6 separate regions of the Homo sapiens genome follow, and all the other regions are linked to region 4. The links are contacts of gene promoters, found by promoter capture Hi-C in human tissues and cell types (Jung and others, 2019). All regions are on one chromosome and are shown on one strand. Each heading gives the region's core, a stretch centred on a gene start or on the middle of the fragment in contact. The rest is flanking DNA. Distances are from core to core; before and after follow the strand shown.

The links. Contacts are between HindIII fragments. The study calls those that stand out against the background at their distance.
Region 1: a fragment that was not itself captured here is called in contact with the fragment with the promoter of PABPN1 in region 4 in 1 of the 25 tissues and cell types used here (stomach).
Region 2: a contact is called between a fragment that was not itself captured here and the fragment with the promoter of PABPN1 in region 4, in 1 of the 25 tissues and cell types used here (IMR-90 fibroblasts).
Region 3: a contact is called between the fragment with the promoter of REC8 here and the fragment with the promoter of PABPN1 in region 4, in 1 of the 25 tissues and cell types used here (dorsolateral prefrontal cortex).
Region 5: a contact is called between the fragment with the promoter of TSSK4 here and the fragment with the promoter of PABPN1 in region 4, in 1 of the 25 tissues and cell types used here (aorta).
Region 6: the fragment with the promoter of PSME2 here is called in contact with the fragment with the promoter of PABPN1 in region 4 in 1 of the 25 tissues and cell types used here (dorsolateral prefrontal cortex).

The regions. Positions count from the first base shown.
Region 1 is chr14:23,984,798-23,989,553 of GRCh38, forward strand. DHRS4L2 (dehydrogenase/reductase 4 like 2) reads left to right here and starts at 4,132. Exons shown (of 8, transcript NM_198083.4): 1 at 4,132-4,278. The coding sequence starts at 4,151. RefSeq lists an enhancer at 3,668-3,727 and a silencer at 3,898-4,147. The HindIII fragment of the contact is 5,367 bases long and covers 1-4,728 here.
Region 2 is chr14:24,077,697-24,082,650 of GRCh38, forward strand. NRL (neural retina leucine zipper) reads right to left here. Exons shown (of 3, transcript NM_001354768.3): 2 at 4,772-4,954; 3 at 966-3,872. The coding sequence ends at 3,540. CPNE6 (copine 6) reads left to right here. Exons shown (of 17, transcript NM_006032.4): 16 at 1-71; 17 at 192-391. The coding sequence ends at 34. Among named protein-coding and RNA genes, the nearest start is that of CPNE6, 8.6 kb to the left of the region's middle. RefSeq lists enhancers at 3,074-3,123, 4,556-4,954 and silencers at 3,434-3,753, 3,964-4,133. The HindIII fragment of the contact is 4,734 bases long and covers 1,338-4,954 here.
Region 3 is chr14:24,170,007-24,174,350 of GRCh38, forward strand. REC8 (REC8 meiotic recombination protein) reads left to right here and starts at 2,074. Exons shown (of 19, transcript NM_001048205.2): 1 at 2,074-2,602; 2 at 2,707-2,775; 3 at 2,893-3,035; 4 at 3,120-3,192; 5 at 3,285-3,405. The coding sequence starts at 2,547. RefSeq lists enhancers at 1,486-1,986, 2,055-2,304 and a silencer at 1,835-1,884. The HindIII fragment of the contact is 13,606 bases long and covers 1-4,344 here.
Region 4 is chr14:23,320,127-23,324,810 of GRCh38, forward strand. PABPN1 (poly(A) binding protein nuclear 1) reads left to right here and starts at 1,331. Exons shown (of 7, transcript NM_004643.4): 1 at 1,331-1,694; 2 at 2,055-2,169; 3 at 2,873-2,940; 4 at 3,251-3,357; 5 at 3,839-3,926; 6 at 4,012-4,163. The coding sequence starts at 1,344. BCL2L2-PABPN1 (BCL2L2-PABPN1 readthrough) reads left to right here. Exons shown (of 8, transcript NM_001387346.1): 4 at 2,055-2,169; 5 at 2,873-2,940; 6 at 3,251-3,357; 7 at 3,839-3,926; 8 at 4,012-4,684. The coding sequence ends at 4,173. RefSeq lists enhancers at 422-1,072, 761-830, 1,084-1,895, 1,896-2,705 and silencers at 1,231-1,660, 1,721-1,790. The HindIII fragment of the contact is 10,317 bases long and covers 1-4,684 here.
Region 5 is chr14:24,204,110-24,208,611 of GRCh38, forward strand. TSSK4 (testis specific serine kinase 4) reads left to right here and starts at 1,587. Exons shown (of 4, transcript NM_001184739.2): 1 at 1,587-2,039; 2 at 2,400-2,614; 3 at 3,007-3,400; 4 at 3,855-4,139. The coding sequence starts at 1,815. The coding sequence ends at 4,037. RefSeq lists an enhancer at 1-118. The HindIII fragment of the contact is 2,603 bases long and covers 1-2,595 here.
Region 6 is chr14:24,143,103-24,147,862 of GRCh38, forward strand. PSME2 (proteasome activator subunit 2) reads right to left here and starts at 3,508. Exons shown (of 11, transcript NM_002818.3): 1 at 3,432-3,508; 2 at 3,106-3,138; 3 at 2,608-2,670; 4 at 2,277-2,363; 5 at 2,141-2,171; 6 at 1,956-2,053; 7 at 1,298-1,366; 8 at 1,090-1,157; 9 at 873-927; 10 at 483-569; 11 at 263-387. The coding sequence starts at 3,479. The coding sequence ends at 307. RNF31 (ring finger protein 31) reads left to right here and starts at 4,396. Exons shown (of 21, transcript NM_017999.5): 1 at 4,396-4,760. The coding sequence starts at 4,597. It overlaps MIR7703 (microRNA 7703), which reads right to left and starts at 463; the gene lies at 387-463. RefSeq lists silencers at 3,554-3,613, 4,314-4,403, 4,434-4,663 and enhancers at 3,924-3,993, 4,131-4,631, 4,178-4,472. The HindIII fragment of the contact is 10,846 bases long and covers 2,151-4,760 here.

The sequences.
Region 1 (4,756 bases), core at 795-3,294, 670 kb after region 4:
GCCATCTCAAAAAAAAAAAAAAAAAAAAGAATTTAAAATGCCACAGTCCTTGGTGGACTGAACAAAAGAAGATTAACATGGTAATAAAGACAAATGAGTACATATGGAAGAAGGGGTCAGGGGGCTCATTTCTTCTAGGGAACAAGGGCCCTGAGCTTCTATACCCCTTCGTATTTACTGAGTAAAGGAGATAGGGAGAAAGGGGTGGTTGTCAGTAAGCTGCTTGACTTAGTGTAGGCTTGTATGACTGCATTCTTTGAACAGTAGTCTCCAGAGGTTCCAGTAGATAACCTCAAGGAGCACAGCACCAGGGAGTAATTGCCCTCAGCAAACCTCCTGGTGGCAGGTGCAGAAGCGAGTTTGCCCACATTTTGCAATCATGATAAACAGTTGGCTGTTTGATCATATAGCCTTCAGTGGAATGCTGAGTTGGTCACGACCCTCAGGCCTTTGGCTCCCTACATTAAAACACCCATTTCACCAGATTAAAAATATTCAATAAAATTTCTAAAAAGCACTTAACACTTGCCAGCACTTACTAAGGAAGTGCTCAATAAATGCTGTTAACACTCTTACTATTATTTCTCTGCTTGGCAGTTGTCCTAATCCCACACCAGCCCTTCCACATAGCCTAATCCTGACTTGTGTCAGTGATGCATGACTCAACAGTGAATCTGGGACAGCTATTGCAAAATGCAAGACTTAAAATCCATCCCAGATGAATTCTCTTCTGGACCGCAGGCAGCCCTTGAAAAGGATGAGAGTAGAGCCCTCAATCATGGAGGCATTTGTCCCTCAAGATAGGCAGATGTTACCACCTCCATACAAGAACAATCCCATTGCCTATTACAGTTCCCATTTCAGAGAGATACTCCCACATATGTATGTATTTCCCTGAAAGGTTTCTTGTTCCTCTTCTTTTTTTATTTTTTTGAGATGGAGTCGCTCCTTCTGTTGCCCAGGCTGGAGTGCAGTGGCATGATCTCAGCTCACTGCAACCTCTGCCTCCCAGGTTCAAGCAATTCTCCTGCCTCAGCCTCCTGAGTAGCTGGGATTACAGGCACATGCCACCAGGCATGTATTTTTAGTAGAGACAGGGTTTCACCATGTTGGTCAGGCTGGTCTTGAACTCTTGACCATGCCCAGCTAATTTTTGTATTTTTAGTAAAGACAGGATTTCACCATGTTAGCCAGGCTTGTCTCAAACTCCAGACCACACCCGGCTCATTTTTTTATTTTCAGTAGAGACGAGGTTTCATCATCTCAGCCAGCTGGTCTCAAACTCCTGACCTCAAGTGATCTGCCCACCTCAGCCTCCTAAAGTGCTGGGATTACAGGCATGAGCCACCATGCCCACCCCAAGATTTCCTGTTCTTATCTCCAATAAGCCAGCTTGATGAGGAGTAGCGCTAGAGATTCCCATACTTCTTGACTTCCTTCTATCCTTTTCTGCTCACAGGCCCCCTGTGAGAACACTGCATGTTCTCACTCATAGGTGGGAATTGAACAATGAGAACACTTGGACACAGGGTGGGGAACATCACACACTGGGGCCTGTCGTGGGGTGCAGGCATGGGGAAGGGATAGCATTAGGAGGAATACCGAATGTAAATGATGAGTTAACGGGTGCAGCACACCAACATGGCACATGTGTACATATGTAAAAAACCTGCACGTTGTACACGTGCACCCTAGAACTTAAAGTATAATAAAAAAAAAAAAAGAAAGAAAGAAAGAAAAAGAAATAGTGCTGGAGGCCAAATAGCAACCCTGCCCACACAAGGAAGGGCCATGTGTTGTTCACCAAGCTCCCAAGCCACAATTCTCTTTTCCCAGAATCCTTTGCTCTTTGAAGTGTGGTCTTCCTCACTTTCCTGGAACCCTCAGCCCCTCAGTGGGCCCGTCTACCTCTGAAGAGAAGAGGAAGAGAGATCAAATACCCCCCTGGAGGCTTGTCCCTTTGAACCAAGCCCTGAGAACCCCCGCAGCAGTCCTCCTGTGTACCCTCCCCCCAGCCCCACACAGATGGAGAGCCCTGGGAAGGGTTCCCACAGTGCATGAGCTCCAAACAGTGCAAGAGCACAAGGAGTGTGGCGCTTCCAGCCTCTGTCAATAATTCATGAGGCTCAGACTGAGGAGCACCAGTCAGAGTCAGCTTTGCCTGGACATGGGGAAAATTATACTGCAGCTCTCCTGTCTCATCGGGATGTGCTGAGTAGCAAAGCAGAGTGCTGCAGCTGTAACTTCTTGGCTGAGGAAAACACTAGAAATCCAGTGCAGGCCTGTTCTATTACTTGCTCGCCATACACCCCCTTTTGAATGTTGAAATCCTTGTTTTTTTTCTTTTTGTTGAGACAGAGTCTCCATCTGTCGCTCAGGTTGGAGTGCAGTGGCGTGATCTTGGCTCACTGCAAGCTCCGCATCCCGTGTTCATGCCATTCCCCTGCCTCAGCCTCCCGAGTAGCTGGGACTACAGGCAAGTACCACCACGCCCGGCTAATTTTTTGTATTTTTAGTAGGGACGAGTTTCACCGTGTTAGCCAGGATGGACTTGATCTCCTGACCCCGTGATCCGCCCGCCTCGGCCTCCCAAAGTGCTGGGATTACAGGGTGAGCCACCACGCCCAGCTGAATGTCCAAATCCTTTTTCAGCTGCTCAGCTGACCTGCACATATACTAAATGAATCTTGAGCAAACATGAATTCTATTCAAAAGTCATGCCTAGAACTGGATTTCACAAACCAGGATTCTTTCCCCTCTAATTGTAGGGACTGGCATAAGGCTGCCAAACTGGTGATTTCACCAATAACACATCTCTAAACCTACCCATCTGCTTTCATCATCTTTTCTGAAACAAAACACTAACACACACACACACAAAAAGAAGGAAAGGTATACTCCACAATAAAGGACTGTTAAATAAGCTTAGCTTTATGAAACTCACTGTAATTGTTTCCTTTTCTCATTTTGCTTTGAACTAGTGAAAACGCTGCCATGAACCAGCACTGCTTCTCAGTCTGGCTTTGGAGGCCAGTGGGTTAAACTAATTCAGATACTTACCTTTGGGTCTGTTGCGGCCTTTCTACACTGTACCATAAGCCATCCATATTTATTCATTCTCCCGGAAACCCAGGAGGGAGATCATTTCAGCCCACTTGGCAGAAGTGGAGACTGAAGTCTTGGACACAGAATTTATAGCTGGCAAGGACTTTATTCATCATCCATACCCTCAGTAATTTACAGATGAAGAGTCTGGCCCAGGGCACCAATAATAATCACTACATGGTGGCAGTAACTACTATGTGCTTAGTAGCTTACAGTTCATAAAGAGATTTTGCATTCAACAAATATTTATTGAACTAGGATGGAGGCTAAGACCTGGGGACAGAGTGGTTAGGGAGAACTTGAGTGCCCCGAGTTCTTTGCATTTCCACCACTGCTTGAGGGACTGTCCAGCCTCCTCGCTACCACTTAGCCCCTGTAAAGGAGGAAGTCCCTTTGGCGAGGGATATGAGATCCTGTTTTGCCAATGACCGTAGTCTGCCCTCCAAGGGCCCGTGAAGATGGAAGAGACCTTGGGCAGAGTGAAGGGCAGTGCCAGGCCTGGCGCAGCTACTGCCTATCACGTCTCTCTCCCAGGCTGCTCCAGCCTCACCTGGTGGACTCCATGGGGACCACAGGCCTCACCTCCATGGGCAGTCTCAAAACATTTGCCCTCCTGTGGGCTGTCACATACATAGACCCAGACTTTCTTGGAGAAGGAATTCTGAAGAAGCAAAAGCAACCAACTCAAAACCCCCACTTCCCCAAGAAGAAAACGTGGACAAGCAGATGCAGAAGGGCAGCAGCCAAAGTCTGCGGGTTCCTGCGGGGGCCAGGGGAGGGGCGAGCCCTACAGGCAACTTGAACGGAGAGCGCTTTGATCACTCACCAGCCCGGGAAGGCAAGCCCCAGTCAGGCGGAAGGTAGCTGGCTGCGGGGCGGGGCGACTGGCGGGCGGCGGGAGGCGCCAACCGCCACAGACGACTCCCAGCTGGCCGAGGGCGGGAAGGGGGCAGGCAGGGAAGCGGCCCGCCCTTCGTCCTGCCCCTTCGCCCTACTCTGTCACCTCCGCTGGAAGGAGTGGAACCCAGACTTGCTGGTCTGATCCATGCAGATGGCCAGGCTGCTAGGCCTCTGTGCCTGGGCACGGAAGTCGGTGCGGATGGCCAGCTCCAGGATGACCCGCCGGGACCCGCTCACAAATAAGGTGGCCCTGGTAACGGCCTCCACCGACGGGTGAGTGTTGGTGCCGGAGTTTCTGAGGCCCTGGCTGCCTGGAAACATGCACTGGTGTCTCGTCCTTTGCCTCCAGTGCCCCTGTCCTCAGACCTCACATACCGCCAAAGTCTGGCCATGGAAAAAAAGTAGCCACGTGGTCCGCCTGAAGCCCCTCCGAATACCCTGGCCCTCCCTTGCCAGCCCTTCTGTCCCTGCTGCCTCTGGCACAACTGTGCCACCTCTGTGCAGCCCCATCGATCTAGTCCCCCCAGTGTTCTGGGCTGCCCCAGTCAACCAGCCTTACCTAGCCTCTGGGAAGACCAGAAACTGGAAATGCAAGGGAATCTGGATTCAAAATCTTATAACAAGGCCTCCAGCTTTTTGAAAATGTACCATTCTATTTGGGCTCCAGAAAGTGTCCCGGAACCCCTCCCCCTTACCTAGATGGGACACCAGAGCCATGTGTCGAGACTTTTTTTTAGGTCGGTACATCTGG
Region 2 (4,954 bases), core at 2,455-4,954, 760 kb after region 4:
CACACTGGCTACGACTCCCAGCCCTAGCCCGTGACTGCCTCCCTCCGGACCGACACTCCCTCAGCCTCTCAGTGAGTCCTGGGGCTTCCAAAGGAGTGGACACAGGGGGTGCAAAGTGGGGCTTGGTAGAGCCCAACTAGGCTGGGTGTAGTGTAGAAGAGAGTGCTTATGACTCTCCCACCCCCTCCCAGGTGCCTGTCCTGACCCTCGTGACTCCAGTGACCAATGCCTCCACCTCTTGGACCAGGTGTGCCCCCTGGGTTCTGGACGTGAGTGGTGGGTCCTGCTCCTATCTCTCCAAACCCCATACCCTTCAATGCTGTGGCCCCTCAGTGACTTCCTTGGGTGATCCTGACTTTCTAGCCATTAATAAAGAGAACTGCTCCTAGCACCTCAGCCTCTAACCATCATGCCTCAGATGCCCACTGGGCAGCCTGCAGCACCCCCACACACACCATAAGAAATGAGGACCAGCACCTTTCAAAATCTGAGACAGAGCTCCCCAGGCAGGCTGCTGTCTCTGCAGTCTTACCCCAGCTATGTGCCAGTGGGATCTGAGGAGCCCCCTCCCTCACCTCCCAACCCCAGGGGGTCTAGGCACCATGGAGAATAATTACAGGAGATAGGAGGATAATTACGGGCTGTCAGGAGGGCAGGCTGAAGCTTTCTTATAGCTGTCTCCAGAGAGGCCCTGCTGAGTCCCCCAGGAGCTGAACCCCAGCCCCCACACAGCTGTGGGGCGGGCCAAGAGCAGGTGCTGGGGGATACTGAAGGAGGGCAGCAGGTCTGCTAGTGAATTGGGAACATAGTGGAGCATCTAAGGCCTATACAGTCTGGTTTCCCGGGTGTGTCAATGTGTGTGTCTGTTCATGGCCTTAATGGGTCACACTCATGGACTCAGGGATGTGCAGTGCATGAACACACAGATTCACACACTTAACAATCACATCAGCAACAACAGCAAATATCATTACGTAGCATGTGTCAACTTTATGCTAAGTGCTTATTTAAATGCATTTATTCTCAGTAGGTGGTTACCATTATTTTCACCATTTTTCTGACAATCAAGTGAGGCTTGATTTTAACCCACCCATGGTCAAAAAACTGGTAGAACTGCAACTTGAAACAGGGTCTCACTCTGCCACCCAGGCTGGAATGCAGTGGCACGATTATGGCTCACTGCATCCCCGAACTCCTGGGCTCAAGTTATCCTTCCACCTTAGCCTCCTGGGTAGGTGGGACTCCAGGTGCATGCCATTACATCTGAATTTATTTTATTTTATTTTTTTGTAGTGACAGGGTTCTCGCTATGTTGCCCAGGCTGGTCTCAAACTTCCTCCTTGGCCTCCCAAAGTGTTGGGATTACAGGCAGGAACCACTGCGCCCCACCTAAAGCACTACTCTTAATCACCACAGTGTGCAACTTTGTTTTTTTAAGTATACTCAGGTAACCCAGGAGTATCATTTTGAGACCCAGGTATGGTACTGTATATGTGGCCTAGTTGTGTGCTCAGGTGTCTATGGATGGTTCTGTCTGTCTTTGTGTGCCATGCAGGTGAGAAAAGTGAACAAGAAAAGTAGTGGGTCTGAATTACAGCTCCAGGGCAGGCAAGGATAGACACAGGTGAAATTTAGAGTGAGAGAAAAAGAGCTGGGCTCCCGGAAGGACCCTCCCTGCCCCATCCTCTCCCTTCAACAATGAGTGTGGAAGGGGATGAAGAAAGAGAAGCTAAAGGTTCTGTGAGCCCCTCAGAGAGAGAATCCAGAGCCAGAGAGGATGGCCAGTGGCCAATGGTGGGGAAGGGAGAGGAGACGAGAGAAATTCTGAGAGCGATGGAGGAGAGGACTCCCATTGCAGGCTCCTAAGCGGAGGAGGGATGAGCTGGGATAGAGGAGGGGAAAGAGGGAGCAAGAACTGTGATGGGAAGAGAAGAGACAGCTGGGGAGGGGGTGGAGAGAGGGGGTAGAAAGGAAGAGGGACATATGGGAGCCTCTTCCCCCATGCCCGAAAGCTTCTCCCATTTATTATGTCCGGTAGAGGACAGATGACAGTAACTCGTGAGGCGGCTGCTCCCAGCACAACGCCTGTGCTCTGCCCAGAGGCCCCATCTGCCCTCCCCTTAGCCTGCTGAACTGGAGGACTGGGTTACCATGGAAACTGTGAGACCTGGATAGCCACTGACAGGCCGAGCTGGGCCACTGAGGCTTCTGAGTTTGGTGGTGGTGGTGGTGAGAGGGGGAGGATCCATCTGTTCCAATGCCTGCCCCTCCACCCCATTTCCATTGGCTCTCCATAACAGATGTGCCACCCAGCTCCAGGTGGGGACTTCCCTTTTTCTTGCTCTCTCTCTCTCTCCCTCTCTCTCCCTCTCCCACACACAGACACACAAACAGTAGCCTGAAGCAGGGATAAAGAATGAACACTTCTTAAATTGCAAGAACATTTAGCTTATTGCATTAGAATTCTGCCTGGACTTCAAGTTTAATTCACAAAAGCTGCACTCTCTCAGCAAATTGTCATCCCAGGAGAAGTCTCACCTCAGCCCTCAGAGAGGTGGGAGGTGGCAGGAGCACCCTGTGCAGGTCTGGAGGCCCAGACAGCCTGGAGGGAGCTGCCGAGGACCCACGTATGTGCTCACAGAGAAGCCAGGCTTCCTCGCCTGGGCTGTGCATCCCCTGCCTAGGCTGCAGCTGGGAAACTGCAGCAGGATAGGAGGTGCCTTTGGCGAGATTGTCTTGGGGACTTCTTGGGGAGACCACCGGGACTTCCATACTGGGGAGATGCCAGAACTGGAAAGGGAGCAGAAGTCGTCCAATCCACATGAGAATTAGATGAAGTAACACAAGTCCAGGAAGCAACTGATTTGCTCAGGGTGACAGGGGGATCCCATGGAAGAGCTGGGACTAGGACCCAGGTTTCCAGACTTCTGCACACAGCTCTCTCCCAACCCACACCAACAACCCCCAGAGCTCACTCTTCAGGCCTTTGCTGCTCTGAGCCCTGAAGGCCACAGGGTTGGGCAGGGAAAAAGCATCTCGGATAGAGGTCCTAATCTATCTAGTTGTTGGATATTGAAATCTTGAAAATTCTGTAGTGCTAAAATGGGGAGGTTACAAGCTTCAGAATGAAAATACAGCCTCATTGCTAATTACAGCTTTAATGTGTTACAGGTTGAAAACCCTGAATTAAAAACTAAACTGAGGTGGGAGCTGCAACCCTCCTCCACCTCCCATTCACTGTGTCACCACACTTCCACCCCCCAGTGCCTGGCACTGGTCCCTGCAGAGCTCAGCGTGCTAGTCATGTGGGCTGGGTTTCTGTGTTCGTAAGGGGAGGGGACCCCTCTCCAGAAAATGACCAGCATCTAAATTCGGGCATGACTTGAGGACCCAAAAGCTTTGGGGATATTTGCGCGGTCATACAGGGCGTGGCTAGGACCAGAAGGCGCTCTGGTAACGATGCAGAGAACCGTGCAGCCGCCTCCTGGGCGGAGCCACCCCACCCAGCCCCCACTACACCACAAGGTGCTCTGAACGGCTCAGAGGAAGAGGTGGGAGGGGTCCCCGGACCCGGGGCCGCTCGAGGTTAGCCGGTCACAGCGAGCCTTGTAGAGATCGCGCTCCCGGGCCAGGCGGGCCACCTCGGCCCGCAGCGCGTCCAGCTGGGCGGCCAGGCGGGCGCGCTCGGCCTCCAGCCCGCGCCGCTGCTGCAGCCGCTTGGAGCGACAGGCCTGCGCGTAGCCGCGGTTCTTCAGCGTGCGGCGCCTCTGCTTCAGCCGCAGCGCCTCGTCGCGCCCGCAGCCCCGCAGCTGCCGGTTTAGCTCCCGCACAGACATCGAGACCAGCGCCGCGTCGGAAAACCGCTCTGCCAGCTGCGGAGGGAGAATGCAGAAACCGGGTCAGCGCCAGGTCGCACCCGGCTCTGCCCTGAGGGCCCGACGCTACCTGGCTCCGCCCCGGGACAGCCCCGCCCCGGCTCCCACCTTCACCGGAAGGCTCGCCCTTCCACGCAGTCTGTTTCGGTCCAGAGCCCGCCCCAGGCCCCGACGCTCCCCGGGCCCCCCAGCTGACCGTTGCTCCAGTCAGGCGGGCGCCCCACGGTGCAGGGCCGGCCACGGTCAGGCGAGCCCGTCGCGCACCTAAACCCCGGGCTCGTCTCTGGGATCCCCGGCATCCAGCTCCAGGCCCGGGTGTGTCCAGTGGACCCGCACCCAGACAGCCCCCAACCCTCCAACGCGCTGCGTTTCCCTGTCCTGAAGCCTGCAACCCGGTGACCCTCACAGGATTTGGATTACATCCTAATGCCCGCAACACCCCCATCTGTGTCTGTAATTAATAGGATGAGTCCCAATCCTTCCTGAGAAGGTTGGGGGCTGGGAAGCACGAAGTCTTGAAAAGGCCAATCTAAACCAGTCTTAACCCAGCTCCACTCCACACATAACCCTTTCCCTGGTTTCCACACACCATGTATCTGTTTACCCCCCGGAGTCGCCCACTCCCCAGCTCAATTCTTCCCTTTGGATTCTCTGCTAATCTTATCTTCTCCCTGCTCCTCCTGGTTCAGCCTACTCATTTCTCTCCATTTTAAGAAAAGGGGGAGAAGCAGAATGTAGTTTTCTCGATCTGATTGCTTTCAAGGGACCTTCTCCCCTTCTCCTGCCCTCTGTCCCCTGTCCCAGTCCATAACCCCCTCTGGGAGCTCCCCTTCCTCTCTTGGGCAGTCCTCCTTCCTTGCCCTGCCTCCCCTCAGGCCAGCTTGCTGACCACTCACCTGGACGTGCTGGGCTCCTGTCTCCTCTGGGCTCCCTGGGTAGTAGCCATGGGGCCCATCAACAGGGACTGGGCCCTGACCCTGCAGCAGCTCCATGGCCTCTTCAGGACTCAGCCCCAATGCCTCCCCAGCCCCCAGCTGCTGCTGCAGGGTAGCCAGCCAGTACAGCTCCTCCAGGCCTGG
Region 3 (4,344 bases), core at 824-3,323, 850 kb after region 4:
TCACCTGAGGTCAGGAGTTTGAGACCAGCCTGGCCAACATGGTTGAAACCCTGTCTCTACTAAAAATACAAAAAAATTAGCCAGGCATAGTGGCACATGCCTGTAGTCCCAGCTACTCAGGAGGCTTAGGTAGGAGAATTGCTTGAACCCAGGAGGCGGAGGTTGCACTGAGCCAAGATGGTCCATTGCACTCCAGCCTGGGCGACAAGCAAAATTCCATCTCAGAAAAAAAAAAAAAAAAAAAAAAAAAAAACTCTCAAATTGAAGGGGACTGTAAGAAGATAGGGTCAGCTCAGCTGCAGTAAGATATAAGTCTCAGGAAGAAGCATGCTCTGGAGTCAAGGCAGAGAAGGACATTCTAGGCCAAAGAAATGGCTGTGCAAAGGTAGGAGGCATAGGGACAAGGGTTATTATTACAACTGTACCTCTTAAATTTACACAATAATTGTTGAGAATATGGCTTTTCCAGGCTAGGAAGTTGTGCTGCATCCAAAAATGCTAAAGTCTATTTCAGCCGGGAGAACACTGACAGCTGGGAAAGGACCACACGTGGCGTGCCCATAACCTAAGTTGTTCAGATTTAGGAAGTGACCCCAGTAAGTCCTTTCGGAGTTTCGTGTAAGATTGACTTCTTCAGCTGGGGGCAGTGGCTCACGCCTGTAATCCCAGCACTTTGGGAGGCCAAGGCGGGCGGATCACCTGAGGTCAGGAGTTCGAGACCAGCCTGGCCAACATGGTGAAACCCCTGTCTCTACTAAAAAATACAAAATTTAGCCAGGTGTGGTGGTGGGCGCCTGTAATCCCAGCTACTCGGGAGCCTGAGGCAGGAGAATCCCCTGCACCGGGGAGGCGGAGGCTGCAATGAGCTGAGACTGCGCCACTGCACTCCAGCCTGGGTGACAGAGTGAAACTCCATCTCAAAAAAAAAAGAAACCAGCCTGGCCAACATAGTGAAATCCCGTCTCTTCTAAAAATGCAAAAATTAGTTGGGTGTGATGGAGGGCGCCTGTAATCCCAGCTACTCAGGAGGCCAAGACACGAGAATCGCTTGAACCTGAGGGGATGGGGGGCAGAGGATGCAGTGAGCCGAGATTGCCGAGATAGCGCCACTGCATTCCAGCCTGGGCAACAGTGAGAGCCTCCATCTCAAAAAAAAAAAAAAAAAATGGACTTCTTCCTCATTGACCTGTGGTGGCTCCAAGGCCATCAAAAAAAAAAAAAATGGACTTCTTCCTCATTGACCTGTGGTGGCTCCAAGGCCATCATCTCACAGCCTTTTTTTTTTTTTTTTTTTTTGAGACGGAGTCTTGCTCCCTTGCCCAGGTTGGAGTGGAGCTGCATGATCTCGGCTCACTGCAACCTCCGCCTCCCAGGTTCAAGCATTCTCCTGCCTCAGCCTCCTGAGTAGCTGGGATTACAGGCGCGTGCCACCACGCCCAGCTAACTTTTGCATTTTTAATAGAGACGGGGTTTCACCATATTGGTCAGGCTGGACTCGAACTCCTAACCTCATGATCCGCCCGCCTCGGCCTCCCAAAGTGCTAGGATTACAGGCGTGAGCCACTGCGCCCGGCCTCATCTCACATCTTTCTTCCTCTGCAGCACACGACACGCCCTAGTTGGAAACAAAGTCGGAGTTTGTGGATTGGGGGAAGGGCGGGGTCTAACCTCAGGTCAGGCGCCGTGCAAGGTACATCTTGGCACCCGGAAGAGGCCCAGTACAGTTGCCCCCGAGGTGACCCGACCTCCCCTACCAATTGAGGCGCCCTTGTTGCCAGGCTTGCGGCGGGGGAGCGGCGGGGGAGCGACGGGGATGCGCTCATTGGTCAAGGAAGGGGCGCCTGTTACTAGAGGCGAGAACCGGAGCCCATTGGTCGGAACACCTCACAATGGACCCCAGCGGCGCGCAAAATCCTTATGATTGGTTTGCTGGCTGCCTCGGGAGACCCTGTTGCCAGGATACTTGGCGTTCCCGACCCGACCCCCGTTCCCCATTGGCTGTCAGGGCAAAAGCCGCCATCTAATGAGGAGCGAGGTGCGGTGCCCCGAAGCGCTCGCTTCCCGCGGTGCGATCTAGTCCTGCAGTAGGCGGCCCGGGGCCACACCGCGGCCGCCCAAGCCAGTGCAAGGCCCAGGGGCCTGACATCGCTCCCAGCGCTCGAGGACCGAGGCCTGCTGTGGAGGACACCGTGCTCCCTCGGGACCTGCTCTGGATTCCGGCCCGGACGTCCCCTTGGAGCTCTGCATCTCCAACCTGGAACCCAACCCAGAAGTCTCAAGTTTGACGCATCACGTGGCGTGCGGATCCACTGAGGGTCCACAGAGAGGGGCGCCCATCTCCTGCGTCTCAGTTATCCTGGTAATTGTGTATCTGCCCATTGTTCGTTGCCTCATTAACTTGGCTTTCTAGGTGCACCCACCTTGCCACCAGAGAAGTCCAAATCCTGACTTCTCTCCAAGGTGTTGGGAATTCTGTGCCCTAAAGAATTCCGACTCAGATCCGAACGGGGATCTGGTGGAATCGAGGGTGAAAGACCAGAGGGACAATGTTCTACTATCCCAACGTGCTTCAGCGCCACACCGGCTGCTTTGCCACCATCTGGTAAGGGCGGGGCCCGTTGGCGCGCGATGGCGGACGCTGCCCGGGATCCCAGCCTGACAGCTCCCCCTCCATCCCCATTCTCCCACCTTCCCCACCCACTTCAGGCTGGCGGCGACTCGCGGCAGCCGGTTGGTGAAGCGCGAATACCTGAGGGTGAATGTGGTGAAAACCTGGTAAGGCCCAGAAAAGGGAAGGAGGGCCTGGTGCGGGGGGTGAGTTAGGGGATGGGGTGGCCAAGACTGTGGGCCCACTCCTGGACGCAGCGGTAATCAGGGCGCATTGTTCCCCAGCGAGGAAATCCTCAATTACGTGCTGGTACGAGTGCAACCCCCGCAGCCCGGCCTGCCGCGGCCCCGCTTCTCCCTCTATCTCTCAGCCCAACTTCAGATCGGTGTGATCCGCGTCTATTCTCAACAATGCCAGTACCTCGTGGGTAAGGCTGGGAACCCTCAAAGGTGGGGCGGGCTGAGCAGCTGTCTGCTAAGCTGGCTGTCTACCTCGTCCTCCCTGCCCACAGAGGACATCCAGCACATCTTGGAGCGCCTCCACCGTGCCCAGCTGCAGATCCGAATAGATATGGAGACTGAGCTGTGAGTGTGCCCTGGGCCTTTGATGGAACACCTGCTAGCTTGGCCTCAGCCTGGCTCAGCCTCAGTCCTTCACGGCCTACATTCTCTCCCAGACCCAGCCTGCTGCTTCCTAACCACCTGGCCATGATGGAGACCCTAGAAGATGCTCCAGATCCCTTTTTTGGGATGATGTCTGTGGATCCCAGACTTCCTAGTCCTTTCGATATCCCTCAGGTAGGGCTCATTCCCCAAGACTCGTGAATTGGCAATGCAGAAGGGGAGTGCTGTCCCTGTGTCACTCTGACATTGGGGTTGGGGAAGGAAGCTTACCACAGCTCTCTCCCACAGGAGATGGTGCAGGGGGACTGCCAAGGTGGACCCATCCAGGCGAAGCCCCCTGTACTTACCTACTCAGGGCCAATCTGATCAGACGGTTTCCCCACTGGAGGCAGCTCTTGTCCCCACTTGTCTCCACACTGTTTTCACTGCCAAGGCCCTAATCCAGGCTCTCATCTCTCTGCACTGGGCTTTCTTACCCCTGTCCTCCTCCATCTATTCCCAATACTCCTACAGCTTAATGTCACCCCCTTCCTTGGTTCCCCATTTGAACAGTGGCTCCTGCTGCAAACAGATTACTAGCATTTGGGGCTCTCCATGCCCCATTTATTTCTTTTTTTATTTTATTACTATTATTATTATTATTTTTGAGACAGGATCTTGCTCTGTGGCCCAGGCTGGAGTGCAGTGGCACGATCTCAGCTTACTGCAACCTCTGCCTCCCCGGTTCAAGCAATTCTCCTGCCTCAGCCTCCCGAGTAGCTGGGACTACAGGCATTTGCCACCATGCCCAACTGATTTTGTATTTTTAGTTGAGACAGGGTTTCACCATGCTGGCCAGGCTGGTTTCGAACCCCTGACCTCATGATCTGCCTGTCTCCTCCTCCTGAAGTGCTGGGATTACAGACATGAGCCACAGAGCCCGGCCCAATTTTTTTAGGGTTTCGCCTTATCGGCCAGGCTGGTCTCGAACTCCAGACCTCAGGTGATCCACCCACCCTGGCTTTCCAAAGTGCTAGGATTACAGACGTGAGCCATCGCGCTGGCCTATTATTATTATTTTTTGAAATGGAGTCTCTGTCACCCAGGCTGGAGTGCAGTGGCATGATCTTGGCT
Region 4 (4,684 bases), core at 81-2,580:
GGGGTGTAGTGGGAACCTGCCAGGAGAAATTCCTCTGGGATCTTGGGGGCTTGAGGGCTTAAATGAAGGGTGGCACCCAAATCCCCAATCAATGCCTGTTCAATCAACAAACATCTAACAGGACATTATGTGGTAGGCATATTGCCAGGCCGTGGAGATGCGAATATAAATAGGAACCGGCCCCTCATCTGCAGGCGCTCACAACCTAGTTAGGAAACAGTAAAACAATTAAGCGCGCCGTGGAGATAGGCCCACTTGTCCTGGGAAATGAGGGGAAGCTGGGGTTTGCAGTGGTTTGATTGAAGGGGGACTACATGTTAGAGGCACAGACTGGGTGCAGGTACACCCAAAGGAACGAGAAGAGTGGAAGGAAACAACATCCACAAAGTAACCACATGCTGGCGTATCGAAGGCCGTGATTTACGGTTTTGAGACTTTACCTCGCCAGCAAAGGGGGGCCAGTCTGTTAGCGGTGCAGATTGGAGGGGTGACATTGGAAGCTGTCCAGGAAAAAGAAAATGGAACTGGGGAGCAGAAGGCCTACGCAAGAGGGCGGGACAGACAGGACTTGTGACTAGTAGCTCTGGACTGAGGAATCCTCCCTGCTTTCTGGTGCGGGAGAGCTAGTGGATGATGGTGCCAATAACCTGGATGGGGAAAGTAAGCTCCCTCCTGGAATGCTTCATTCACAACCTCCATTTTCAGCAACATCCCATCTACTGGTGCTTCCTGGTCGAGATACAAGTTTCCTGAAACTGCTGCTCTGTTTTGGGCCTCACCCGGCCAACAGCTCACTAGCTGGCAAGCAGTAGTATCAAGATGGCGGCCCCCTAGGACTGGCTAGTCATGTGACCTCGGGTTTCCCAAGTTTGAAGCCCGGCAGTCCTTTCGGGGGCAAGGTTCACCTGTCACGAAACGAGTGTCACCCCTTCGACTCTCGCAAGCCAATCGGCATCTGAGACTGGGCCACTGCGGTGAGGCGATCGGAAGATTGGTCCTTTCCAGTCGCCTAGCTAGGGCCAATCACGGAGCGTCCCATACTTCGCGGGCCCGCCCGTAGGCCGGGGAGAAGCAGGAATATCGTCACAGCGTGGCGGTATTATTACCTAAGGACTCGATAGGAGGTGGGACGCGTGTTGATTGACAGGCAGATTTCCCCTACCGGGATTTGAGAATTTGGCGCAGTGCCCCGCCTTAGAGGTGGGGCCTTATTTGATTGCCAAGTAATATTCCCCAATGGAGTACTAGCTCATGGTGACGGGCAGGCAGCTTGACTAATGAGTCCTCGGCGTGGCCGGCGCAGCTCTCCAATCGCCGGGCGGCGGGCCCCAGTCTGAGCGGCGATGGCGGCGGCGGCGGCGGCGGCAGCAGCAGCGGGGGCTGCGGGCGGTCGGGGCTCCGGGCCGGGGCGGCGGCGCCATCTTGTGCCCGGGGCCGGTGGGGAGGCCGGGGAGGGGGCCCCGGGGGGCGCAGGGGACTACGGGAACGGCCTGGAGTCTGAGGAACTGGAGCCTGAGGAGCTGCTGCTGGAGCCCGAGCCGGAGCCCGAGCCCGAAGAGGAGCCGCCCCGGCCCCGCGCCCCCCCGGGAGCTCCGGGCCCTGGGCCTGGTTCGGGAGCCCCCGGCAGCCAAGAGGAGGAGGAGGAGCCGGGACTGGTCGAGGGTGACCCGGGGGACGGCGCCATTGAGGACCCGGTGAGGGAAGGAGGGCGAGCGAGCAGGCCGGCGGCTGGCCGGCCGGGTCACTGGAGGCCCAGAGCTCGGGCGAGCGGGTGGCAGGCGGGGGGTGGGGTTGGGCGGGGAATAACGTGGCTGGGGCCGGGTCGGGCCGGGGATGGGTCAGCGATCACTACAAGGGGCCCGACTGGCTTGATTCGGGCGTCACGGTTGCCTAGTGTTGTTCTAGAGAGGGTAGCTTTTCTTTTATCACGACCCTCGCATGGGGCGAGGGAAATGGCCGAGCATGGCTGAGGCCGCGCTCTGGCCGAGAGCAGGGCACAGCCCCTGCGTTGGTTCCTCTTAAGCTGTCCTCCATACCCTCCCCACTTATATTAGGAGCTGGAAGCTATCAAAGCTCGAGTCAGGGAGATGGAGGAAGAAGCTGAGAAGCTAAAGGAGCTACAGAACGAGGTAGAGAAGCAGATGAATATGAGTCCACCTCCAGGCAATGGTGAGTAACTGGCGGTTGCACGCGGAGCCCGGGTTCTCGGGTTGGAAGGGTTGTGGGGAGGATGGGGAATGTGGGGTTAGATACTCGGCACCCTGGAGCTGCTTGTCTGAGCTATTATGACTGTGCCGCGGTCATAGTCCGTTGTGTGTTCCTCTGACCTTTGTGAGGCAGAACGTATATTTTGGTGGTGGTAGCCTTGTGCCTCCCTTTGTGCCTGTTATAATTGTGTTGCTCTTTGTTCTTAGTCTACGTCTATCTTTCTTTGTAGAGGTTGCGTGCTCGCATTTGACCTTCAAATCTAATAGTTTTTCCTCCAATTGGAGACGCTTTAGGATTCTAAGAGAAAGCAAGCTGCAAGGGGTTTCCCCTTTAATCTAGAAATGTGGAGTCTCAGCCCACTTAATTTTGCTCACTCTTAAAAGCATTTCAACCAAAGCCATTCATTAGGGATTTGATTTGGAGGCAGGAGGGATTCCTATACTGTTTTAAGTGTGTATTAATTCTTTCAATTTATTGAATATTTAGTGAGTACCTGCTATGCACTAGGCACTATTCTCGGTTGTGGGTACAGCAGGGAACAGCACAGACCAAAATCTTTGCCTTCACTGAGCTTATGGGATAGTGCTGGTGGTGGAAGTGCAACATATTGGTCAAGTAGAAAACAAGTGTGTGGTTTTTGTAAAAAATTATTTTTTCCTGATAGCTGGCCCGGTGATCATGTCCATTGAGGAGAAGATGGAGGCTGATGCCCGTTCCATCTATGTTGGCAATGTACGTACTGGGGCTCTGACTGGGGTTGGGGGCAAGTTCTTCTTTTGGGGAATTATTTAATAGTCCTGAAAGGAACATCTCCGGGATAGATGTGGTTTTGGGTGTGGAGGGAGTGTGGGAAGGAGGTTAAAGGTAATGGAATGATCAGTAATCAGCAAAGGCTCTGGGTTTGGAAGGAAAAGAGATTAATTCCTCAAATTACCAGATTTCATGTGCTTTGGTGTATGATGGCCCAGACCAAAGGCTCGGGAGGGTTCCTTTTGAGACAGGAATTTGCCTGGTGCCTGTGAAATTTTTCTCCTCTCATCAGGTGGACTATGGTGCAACAGCAGAAGAGCTGGAAGCTCACTTTCATGGCTGTGGTTCAGTCAACCGTGTTACCATACTGTGTGACAAATTTAGTGGCCATCCCAAAGGGTAAGTAAAGGGGAGTAAGTTGAGATAATTTAAATTACAGTGTACAAATAGATAAATTATGTTTTATATTGAGCAGTAAGTTATTTGGTGTTAACACAGGTGATCTGTGTCATTTAAGATCATGGCATTAATGTTGATATATCAGGAGTTGCACCTAAATGTCTTCAGAGGCCAGATAACAAAAATGAAGGCTAGATGTGGGTGGGATTACGAACTAGAAGGGGAGGGGCAGCTTCTACTTGGCCTATTATGGCCATATGGAAATTCAGGCCCTGTGTGTCTTATTTTTACAAATTTCAAAGAGTAGCTGGAAATTTTAAAATTTAAATGATTTCGAATGATTGAAATTTTCCATTTAGAAGAATTTTGACAAATAAAAAATATAACTGCATTGTAGCCCAAAACGAAGCATGCCTGCAGGTTGAATTTGACCTGTGAGGTATTTGTAACCTCAGAGAGATACAATGACAATTCTTTTCAGGTTTGCGTATATAGAGTTCTCAGACAAAGAGTCAGTGAGGACTTCCTTGGCCTTAGATGAGTCCCTATTTAGAGGAAGGCAAATCAAGGTAAGCCTATGTCCATTGCTGTTCTAGTTGTGTATAAACTCTCCAGGTTGCCTTTAAGGCTATCATTTGTTCATCTCTGACTCAGGTGATCCCAAAACGAACCAACAGACCAGGCATCAGCACAACAGACCGGGGTTTTCCACGAGCCCGCTACCGCGCCCGGACCACCAACTACAACAGCTCCCGCTCTCGATTCTACAGTGGTTTTAACAGCAGGCCCCGGGGTCGCGTCTACAGGTCAGGATAGATGGGCTGCTCCTCTTTCCCCCGCCTCCCGTGAGCCCCGTATGCTTCCTCCTCTCTGGTCTGAGGAACCTCCCTCCCCCCACCCCTCCCCGTGGTCTTCAGGAACTTTGTCTCCTGCCTGTGCAGGTTGAGGAAGGTAGTTGCAGGCCAGGCCAGAAGGCCAGCCTCATCATCTTTTCTGCAGTAGAAATTGGTGATAAGGGCTGCATCCCTCCCTTGGTTCAAAGAGGCTTCCACCCCCAGCCTTTTTTTTCTTGGGAGTTGGTGGCATTTGAAGGTGTTTGCGGACAAAACTGGGAGGAACAGGGCCTCCAGGCAGTGAAAGCACTGCTTGGACATTTGTTACTTTTTTCGGAGTTAGGGAGGGATTGAAGACTGAACCTCCCTTGGAAGAATACCAGAGGCTAGCTAGTTGATCCTCCCCAACAGCCTTGTGGGAGGATTTTGAGATACTTATTCTTTATTTGAGCCAGTCTTGCAAGGTTAACTTCTCACTGGGCCTAGTGTGGTGC
Region 5 (4,502 bases), core at 337-2,836, 880 kb after region 4:
GTTTGCCACAAATACAGAAAAGCAGTTGTGGATCATTACGTGTGTGTTAAAAAATAAAATTGGGGAGGTAAGCAGGATCAGACTTAAAGCTGTGTGAAAGAATTTGGATGGACTTGATCCTAAAGAGAATGGGGAGACACTGAATTGTTTCAAATGGAAATAAAATCAGATTTATGCTTTGGACTTGGGATGGACAGACTGGAGTGGAGCAGAAGGCTGGCGGGGGCCATCTGTTCGATGATGGAGGCGTGAACTAAGGGATTAGCAGTGGGCTCAGAAAACCATGAGAATATTATCAAAGAGAGAATCAGGAGGTATAAGAGATAGGATTTCGTGATAGATTGAATGTAGGGACTGAGGCAGGAGGGTCTGGGATGACATATGAGTGTCTAAATTAAGGGTGATTAGTGTACAACTCACAGAAAAGTCTGAGAGAAGAAAATAAGTTCAATTATTGATATGGTTAAGTTTGAGATGGATATGGTAAGTTCCATGCCTGGGGCAGACATGGCCACGTAATACTGGCTGCTCTATCTAAACTCCAGATATATGGGATGGAGATGAAATTAGGAGCAGTCAGCATAAATGTAGTATTGACACCATGGGTATGGACAAGATTAAGGGAGGATGTGAAGGTTTGAGAAAATAAAGCTTGTGATGTAACACTTGGGATATGATTAAGGGATGGATAGAGAAAGATATAACTTCAGTGAAGGCTGAGGAGTGACCAGAAGGATGTGGAGGAAAACTAGAGAGTTCTGGCTCATAGAAGATAAGGATGCATTTCAAGGTTAGATTTTCCTAGAACATGTTCAATACCTTACAATGGTAATACTTTCACACTCGTATTTCTCATGCTGCATTATAAGCTTTAGGATCATAGTGTCTCTATTGGCCTTATTGAACTAAGGGGGCTGCAATGGGCTCGGAAAGCCTTGAGTGTATCATTAAAGAGATAAGTAGGAGATAGCAGAGACAGGATTTGATGAAAGATTGTATGTAGGGATTGAGGAAGGAGGAAGGGTCTGGCATGACATTTGGGTGACATTTTATCCAAGTATTCAGCACAGTGTCTGGTACTTAGTAGGTACTCATATATCAATGAAAGGTCTGATCTTTAGGAGTTTCACCAGACTGTGGAAGGTGCCTCTGGGAATGAGTACGTTTCCAACTGCACTTCATTCTCTTTTTTTTTTTTTTTTTTTTTGAGACGGAGTCTCGCTCTGTCGCCCAGGCTGGAGTGCAGTGGCGCAATCTCGGCTCACTGCAAGCTCTGCCTCCCAGGTTCACGCCATTCTCCTGCCTCAGCCTCCCAAGTAGCTGGGACTACAGGCGCCCGCCACTACGCCCGGCTAATTTTTTGTATTTTTAGTAGAGACGGGGTTTCACCGTTTTAGCCGGGATGGTCTCGATCTCCTGACCTCGTGATCCGCCCGCCTCGGCCTCCCAAAGTGCTGGGATTACAGGCGTGAGCCACCGCGCCCGGCCGCACTTCATTCTCAAGTTTTGTGGCCAACGATGGATAGGAGGTGGATTGTGATGTATTCGGAACATGGGACCTTGAGGAGTTCCGTAACCAAAAGGAGAAAGTAACAACAGCCAGTGGAGACAAAAAGAACTGCTTCTCTTTCTTTCCCCCTCCAAGTTCCTAGTGGAGGGCTGAGTCCAGCATCCCAGACTCGTGTGACTATATAGGCAAGCATTTGGGGACCTACTTCACTTTGATACCCTAGCCTTCAGCAGCTCAAGGTGTTGGCCTTTGGATAGGAGGCTTCCAAGTAGTAAAGCTCCCTGCTCTCAGCAAGCCCAACACCATGGGGAAGGGAGATGTCTTAGAGGCAGCACCAACCACCACAGCCTACCATTCCCTCATGGATGAATATGGTTATGAGGTGGGCAAGGCCATTGGCCATGGCTCCTATGGGTCGGTATATGAGGCTTTCTACACAAAGCAGAAGGTTATGGTGGCAGTCAAGATCATCTCAAAGAAGAAGGCCTCTGATGACTATCTTAACAAGTTCCTGCCCCGTGAAATACAGGTTGGAAAGGGGGCTGGAAGAGGGAACTGGAGCTTGGTACTAAGCTGCTTGAGGTTTCTCAGAAGGGGTATGGCCAGGAGGGGTGGGGCCAGAAACCCCTAAACCAGAACTGAAATGTCTCACTAAGCAGCTAGGAAACTTTATGTAAGTTAAACCTCTTTCCCATCCACCCACTCACCTTCAGTCCCCAAAAAGTAAAGGCACAAAACATAGCATTTGCCCACAGGCCACCAGTTCTCTGGGGTTGAGGGGCTGATCCTATTGCAAAGTCCTAAGTCAGTAGCTGAGGGTAGGAGACGGCTGGGAGTGCAGTCAGGGTTCTCCCTTCCCAGGTTTGATGGGTCCTTCTTCTGGGGTCAGGTAATGAAAGTCTTGCGGCACAAGTACCTCATCAACTTCTATCGGGCCATTGAGAGCACATCTCGAGTATACATCATTCTGGAACTGGCTCAGGGTGGTGATGTCCTTGAATGGATCCAGCGCTACGGGGCCTGCTCTGAGCCCCTTGCTGGCAAGTGGTTCTCCCAGCTGACCCTGGGCATTGCCTACCTGCACAGCAAGAGCATCGTGCACCGGTGAGGGCGCTGCCACCCAGACTGGGGCCTTTGCCCTCAAGGGGGTTTTATGCACATCTCCCATTTCCTGTCCTTTTTTCCTCTTTCGAACTCCCTCCTCAATATCTAGCCTATTCATGCACTCTATTTTAATCATATGGTCAAGGATACTGATAAAGTACTCACTGTATGCAAAGCATTTTATGAAATACAATGGTGAGCTCCCGGTGGTCCTCAGATACCATCCTCTGTCTCTCTCCCTACTTTGGGCTCTGCTCACAACTCCATGGCTTTCCTTCCTCTCTACCTTGTGCCCTCATAATGGTTTCTACCTCCCACTTCCTCTGTCCTCATCTTTACCCTCTGACCCCTGGCCCTTCAGCTCCCAGTCTAAAACTAAGCCCTCTCCCCAGCCTGATGCCCAGCCTTTCTGCTGCTGGTAGGGACTTAAAGTTGGAGAACCTGTTGCTGGACAAGTGGGAGAATGTGAAGATATCAGACTTTGGCTTTGCCAAGATGGTGCCTTCTAACCAGCCTGTGGGTTGTAGCCCTTCTTACCGCCAAGTGAACTGCTTTTCCCACCTCAGCCAGACTTACTGTGGCAGCTTTGCTTACGCTTGCCCAGAGATCTTACGAGGCTTGCCCTACAACCCTTTCCTGTCTGACACCTGGAGCATGGGCGTCATCCTTTACACTCTAGTGGTCGCCCATCTGCCCTTTGATGACACCAATCTCAAAAAGCTGCTAAGAGAGACTCAGAAGGAGGTCACTTTCCCAGCTAACCATACCATCTCCCAGGAGTGCAAGGTACTGGCTACCTAAGGAGGGCTGAGCCTTCAGGGATGACCCACAGGGAGGGGTGAATATCCAACCTAGGTCACCCAACCTAGGCCTCCCAACCCTGGGGAAAGGCTCTTCCCACACCAGAGCCATCTCACACACTAGCTCCTGTCCTATAATAAACAGTATGGAAGGCATAAAGGGCCAACCACTAGGCTCCAAACCTTGCCTGATACACAGGTTCCAGCTTCTTTCTCTTTAGGCCAGAAGGGAAATATGGAAAGCATTCCTCCCAAGGAACTCTTCCCTTCCCCTCCAGGGAGTTAACTGCCTGGGTCTCCAAGATAAAATCAGAGCCACACCCACTTTGACCAGAGTGGTATGATGGGCTATCCTGCTTCTTTCTTAGGTCCAACTGCTCATTGCCTGTGTGGCACAATGGAGAAAAACTCAGGCAAGACCTCTCTCTCCCCTGCTCTAGAACCTGATCCTCCAGATGCTACGCCAAGCCACTAAGCGTGCCACCATTCTGGACATCATCAAGGATTCCTGGGTGCTCAAGTTCCAGCCTGAGCAACCCACCCATGAGATCAGGCTGCTTGAGGCCATGTGCCAGCTCCACAACACCACTAAACAGCACCAATCCTTGCAAATTACGACCTGAAAATGGCTGAGGGAGGGGGCTAAGAGAGGAGCAAAGCAGGAGGTCTTGGGCTAAAAATCTTTTTTACCAAAAATAAATCTAAGTCTGATTTAGTTTCATCAACTAGGGTCAAAGACATTCTTTTCTCAAGGCAATCTTATAGCAGGGAACACTGCTGGAGTAAGAGATAGATTTCTGCCCAGAGCCTGTAACCAATAATCTTGACACTGTGTTAAATCAATAGTGTAATTCATGATGTGGCTCTTAGGGGATGGGGTGCTCAGATTAACGCTCTATTTTGGGAAGCTTTATTATTCAACTCAACATATGCTCATTATTTTACATCTTTGTGCTGTTTAAATGCTCAAGTAGTGGGGTAAAAGCCCTGGTTCTTCCACTTTGATTATGGCTCTGCCTGTCTATAGTCCAAAGTAATGGCACTGTTAGTTCTTTTAGAAATGGGTATTCGAGCTGGGTGCGGTGGCT
Region 6 (4,760 bases), core at 2,258-4,757, 830 kb after region 4:
TTGCCTTAGATGGAAACAGATAAGCAGGAGAAGAAAGAAGGTAAGTGAGATAAGAGGTGACTAGGGAAGGGGAGATGGCACATTGACTACTGGATGAGAAAGGGCCTGAATCCCCTCTTTCTCACAGTCAAGATTACAGTGGGCATCTAAGTCATCTTTGTCTTTGTGACACCCACCCCTTCCCACCACATTCATCTTCAGGCTGGACATAGGTGCCACTCAATAAATGCTTTTTGAATGAATGACACACGCCAGAAGGGAATCCACACAACATATAGATCATTTATTTTCCTTCTAGTCCCGGGTTCAGTACATAGATGGCTTTTCTTCACCCTTTGGGTTGACAATTTTCTCCAGGTTGCTGCTGATGATATGATAAAGCTCAGCCTGGGAGAAGGCCAGAGTGCAAGAGTCAGGTTCTTAGCCAATCCCCTGCCTGCCCCCACTCATCCACCTCCCCTAAAGCCTTACTCCACACTCACATAGAAGGCCCTCAGGTCCAGCACCATGGCCCTGAGCTCCCCATAGGCTGCCTCATCTCGCTCATGCACCAAGGCCCGGTAATCCATCTGCAATGTGGGAGGCAAAGCTGAGTCAGTCCCATGGGAGGCTGGGACATGAGTCTGGTTTCCTTTTATAGGAAATAGGTTAACTTGAGAATGAACCCCTTCTTAGCACCAAGAAATAGGATCCCAAAGGACTGAGCAGAGAAAAGGGTCAAGGTTGTTGAAGCCCAAACCAGTTTTTCTAGGTAATGCTTTTAGCTTAATATTCTCCACATTGGGAAAGTCACAAACAAGACAAGGAGGACTTCTTCCTCCACACCTCCTCGTCCCACACCCAGCTAAAAGGCTGGTGGACTATCCACTCACTACATGAGTCTCCTTGGAGGCCTTGGCCACAGCATCCCCACGTTCTGAGAAGTACCTGCCAGAAGCAAGGGAATACCACAGGAATGAGTGTTCAGGGAGATGTACTCCCTCAGACCCTTCCCAAAGTCTCCCATCATCCTGATAGGGCTGCCCAGCTCTGGGGGTCCCAAAGAAATGCTCCTACTGCCCCCAATGCTGGTCCTCCAGCTGCCCTCACTTGGAAATGGTTGTCTGGAAAGCTTCCACTTTGGTCTTGACGGCATTCACCCTCTCCAGCACCTTCTCCTGTGGTGACACGGGAGGCAAAGACAACACTTCATGTCCTCCCCATTTCATACACTATCTTCCTCCTCCTCCTGGTTCATGTCTAGCTCACCCCCTGAGGCTCTCCCCACTCTAAGTATCTTCAGTTACCCTTTTCTTACCTGGATTGCTACCCCAAAATCATTTCCATCTTCAATCTTGGGGATCAGGTGTTGGATCCATGTAATCACCTGTGTTAAGAGGTATCATGTAAGAATCATTCAACAAACATACTGAGTTCTTCCTATTACTGTCACTTCCTAAAAAAAGTTATATTTAATTGGGTACTTATTACATACCAGGTACTGTGCCATGTATTTATTTCATGTAATCATCACAGCAACCTTCAGAGATATGTATTTATTGTACCCATTTAACAGATGAAAAAACTGAGTCACAGAATGTCTAAGTGACTTACTTAAGGCTACCAGCTAGGTAACTGATAGAATCACGATTTGAACCTAAGCAGTCTCTCTCTAGGGTCCAATCTTTTAAAACAATTCACTCACTATATCATACCACCTCTACTATGAACCCAATACAGCAGTAGGTTCTGAGGTTACAGAGTGGATACTGCACAGTCTCTAATTTTGGGGGTACCGTTGTGATAAGAGAGGTCTAACAGAACGAGGAGAACAAAGGGGATCTAAGCCCAAGGCACAGAAGGAAGTTTTCTTTTTCAGGACTAGGTCTCTGTATGAAGGACTTGTATCTACGGAGGAGTCCAGGGCCTCACCTTGTGTGTCTTCTCTTTCTGCTTCCCCCATTTCCCAGGCTTACCAGAATGCATTTCTCTTTGAGAGTCCAGACTTCTGGCTTAACCAGGGCAAGCAGGGACAGGACTTTCTCATTCCCAGGGAGAAATCCACACTTATGGACTGTGAGAAAGAGGGGATTCAGGCCCTTTCTCATCCAGTAGTCAGTGTGCCATCACCCCTTCCCTAGTCACCTCTTATCTCTCTTACCTTCTTTCTTCTCCTGCTTATCTGTTTCCATCTAAGGCAAAAAGGGGGGAAAGTAGCTTTAGAAAAGTCACAGAGGTTGAAGGGCTATCTTCTCCATTGGGTTTATAGTCCAAGTCCTGCACCCTGAGTGCCTCACCTCATCATCCTTGGGTGGAGGGTCTGGGATGGGGATGTCCAGTGGGGCCCGGAGGGAAGTCAAGTCAGCCACATTGAGGGAGTCCTCCTGCACAGAGCTCACTGTCAAGGGCTGCCCAACCTCTTCCCTTCATCCTAGGTCACAGCCTTCCCTCCATACATCCCACTTGCACTCTGCCTCCCAACCTAGGCTCATGCCTCACGCCATCCTAATGTTCCTAATCCACTATTTGAAACTATTCTCTGCATGCTGAATCCAGTTGTTAGCTAGAGAGGGTGGGCAAAGGGGATAGAGGACATAGGATGGGGCAGAAGGGGCCCACACTACTCACTTGCAAGAGCTGATTCAGGTATATGATTTTCTGTGGCAAGAATCTGTAGAGGAATTCCTCAGCCTGTGGGTTACATTGCAAGGGAGGGGAATCACAGAATATGCTCAATGAGATGTCTGACAAATGGAACTGGAAGGGCCTTTGGAAATCACTGGGTCCAAGACTTGCAAATGAGGAAACTGAAGACCTGAAAATGAAAGGACTTGCCCAAGCTGGTAAATGGCAGAACGAAGGTTAGGACTGTGATATTCCTGCTTTGGAAGCCATGGTTTTTTTCCTCCACATCAAAAGACGGGAGAAGTGCCAGAAGTCGGGAGAGTCATAAGAAAGGTCAGATTAAAGGTAGCTATCAATAATTCCGGGGTTACTTTGGGTGAAGGCTTGGTAAGGGAAGTAGGGTTAAGTCTAGGGTGACTTGGGGGGGTCATTCTGAGAGGCTGTTATCCTCAAGTATTGGTCCAAGATTCTGGGTCAAATCGCTCAAATCCAGAGACTTACCTCCTGGAAAAGATTCTGTCTGAAGACCTCCACCTACACAGAGAGCAGTACCCGGATGTTGGTTAAGGGTCTGGGTTGTCAAAAGCTTCCACCCACAACAGGGTGCCCTCGAACTGTGGCTCAGGCCTTTCTCACCACAAACTAGCTTTCCCTGGAAGCTCCTGCTCACTGCAGTCAGAAGGCAGGAATCTGGGAATCCCCGAGAAGTGAAGGCACTAGCGAGATTGGGGGAGTTCTCTGGCACTGCTTGGTCCCCTGAACCACCCAGCTTGGCCTCCACCCAAGAGGGTTCTATGACCCCTTCCTGGCCTCCGATTCCCCATTACCTGTTTGCGGGCTTCCCCGCTCAGGCGCACCCCACACGGCTTGGCCATGCTGCTTCAGTCGCTAGATCTCTGGTCTCCCGGCTAGTCGCCCGGGCTTTCGCTTTCACTCCCCAGGTCCAGGCCCGCCCCCCTCAACCCCGCCCCCTTTCTTCTTTCCGCCCCCCTCCTCCCGCTGGCAGGCCGCAAGCAGTAGGTAGCCCCTCAGCCATTCCCAGCCAGTTGCCACTAGGAGAGGCGGTGCTGGCTGGGTCACAGTCCAGGGGCTGCCCGAGGGAGGGGCTAGGGTAAGTGGGACCGCGGAGACTGGAGCGGGGGCTGTCCCTCGGAGAGGGGCGGGGCTTATAGCTAGGGCCAACTGGAAGTCCAGGGTTGGGGTAAGAGAGGTGGGAGTATGGCAAAGGGGGTATTCAGTGGCGGGGCTCCCCCAAGAAGGCTCGACCGCAAGTAGCGGACGGAGAGAGATCAGAGCGAGTGGGAGGGGCAGCCAGAGGGAGCGCCTGGGGTGGAGAAGGACTAGCAGCTCTTAGAAGAGAGCGGGCAGGGGTTGGGTGAGGGTCTTCCCTCTGCCTTCAGGACAGACCGGAGATGGGGCGGGACTCGCTCGAGAGGGGTTAGGGCCGGCCAGAGTCGGTTCCCCTGCAGGGTGGGACTTCCTCGGTGAGGCCCGGAGCGTACCGGACTGGTCCAGCTAGAAAAAGAAAGGTTTTGAGCTGAATAGGATAACCCCGCGCCTGCGGCTATCCGGAAGGGGTGGAACCAGATTGGGGGAAGGCGGGGAAGAGCGCTTGACTGAGGGAAGATGCTGGCGCGCTCTGAGGGAGGAGCCAGGAGCCATTTGCCTTCTCATTGGTTGGGACCTGGCCCTCCCTCTTGGCCGCGCCCCCTGGTTTCCTGACACCGCTCCAACCTTAACCTTAAGCCCCGCCCGTTCCTCCGAAATTGGGTCGCAGTCCCACCCTCTCTCCTAGTACTTCCTGTTCTCGGCTAACCCTGGCGCTGGGCCGGGGGCTGGAGAGTGACCGTGGTCTGAGTGACCTGGGGCGGCTGCGTGGGCCGGGGTGGGCCTCAAAGCCGGGCACCAGACGGGAGGGGCGGCGCTCGGGCCGCGCGCTGCCCGCGCCGGGTCCTGGCGGGCGGCGAGGCTGGGGCTGACTCCTGCCTCAGGATGCCGGGGGAGGAAGAGGAGCGGGCCTTCCTGGTGGCCCGCGAGGAGCTGGCGAGCGCCCTGAGGAGGGATTCCGGGCAGGCGTTTTCCCTGGAGCAGCTCCGGCCGCTACTAGCCAGCTCTCTGCCGCTAGCCGCCCGCTACCTGCAGCTGGACGCCGCACG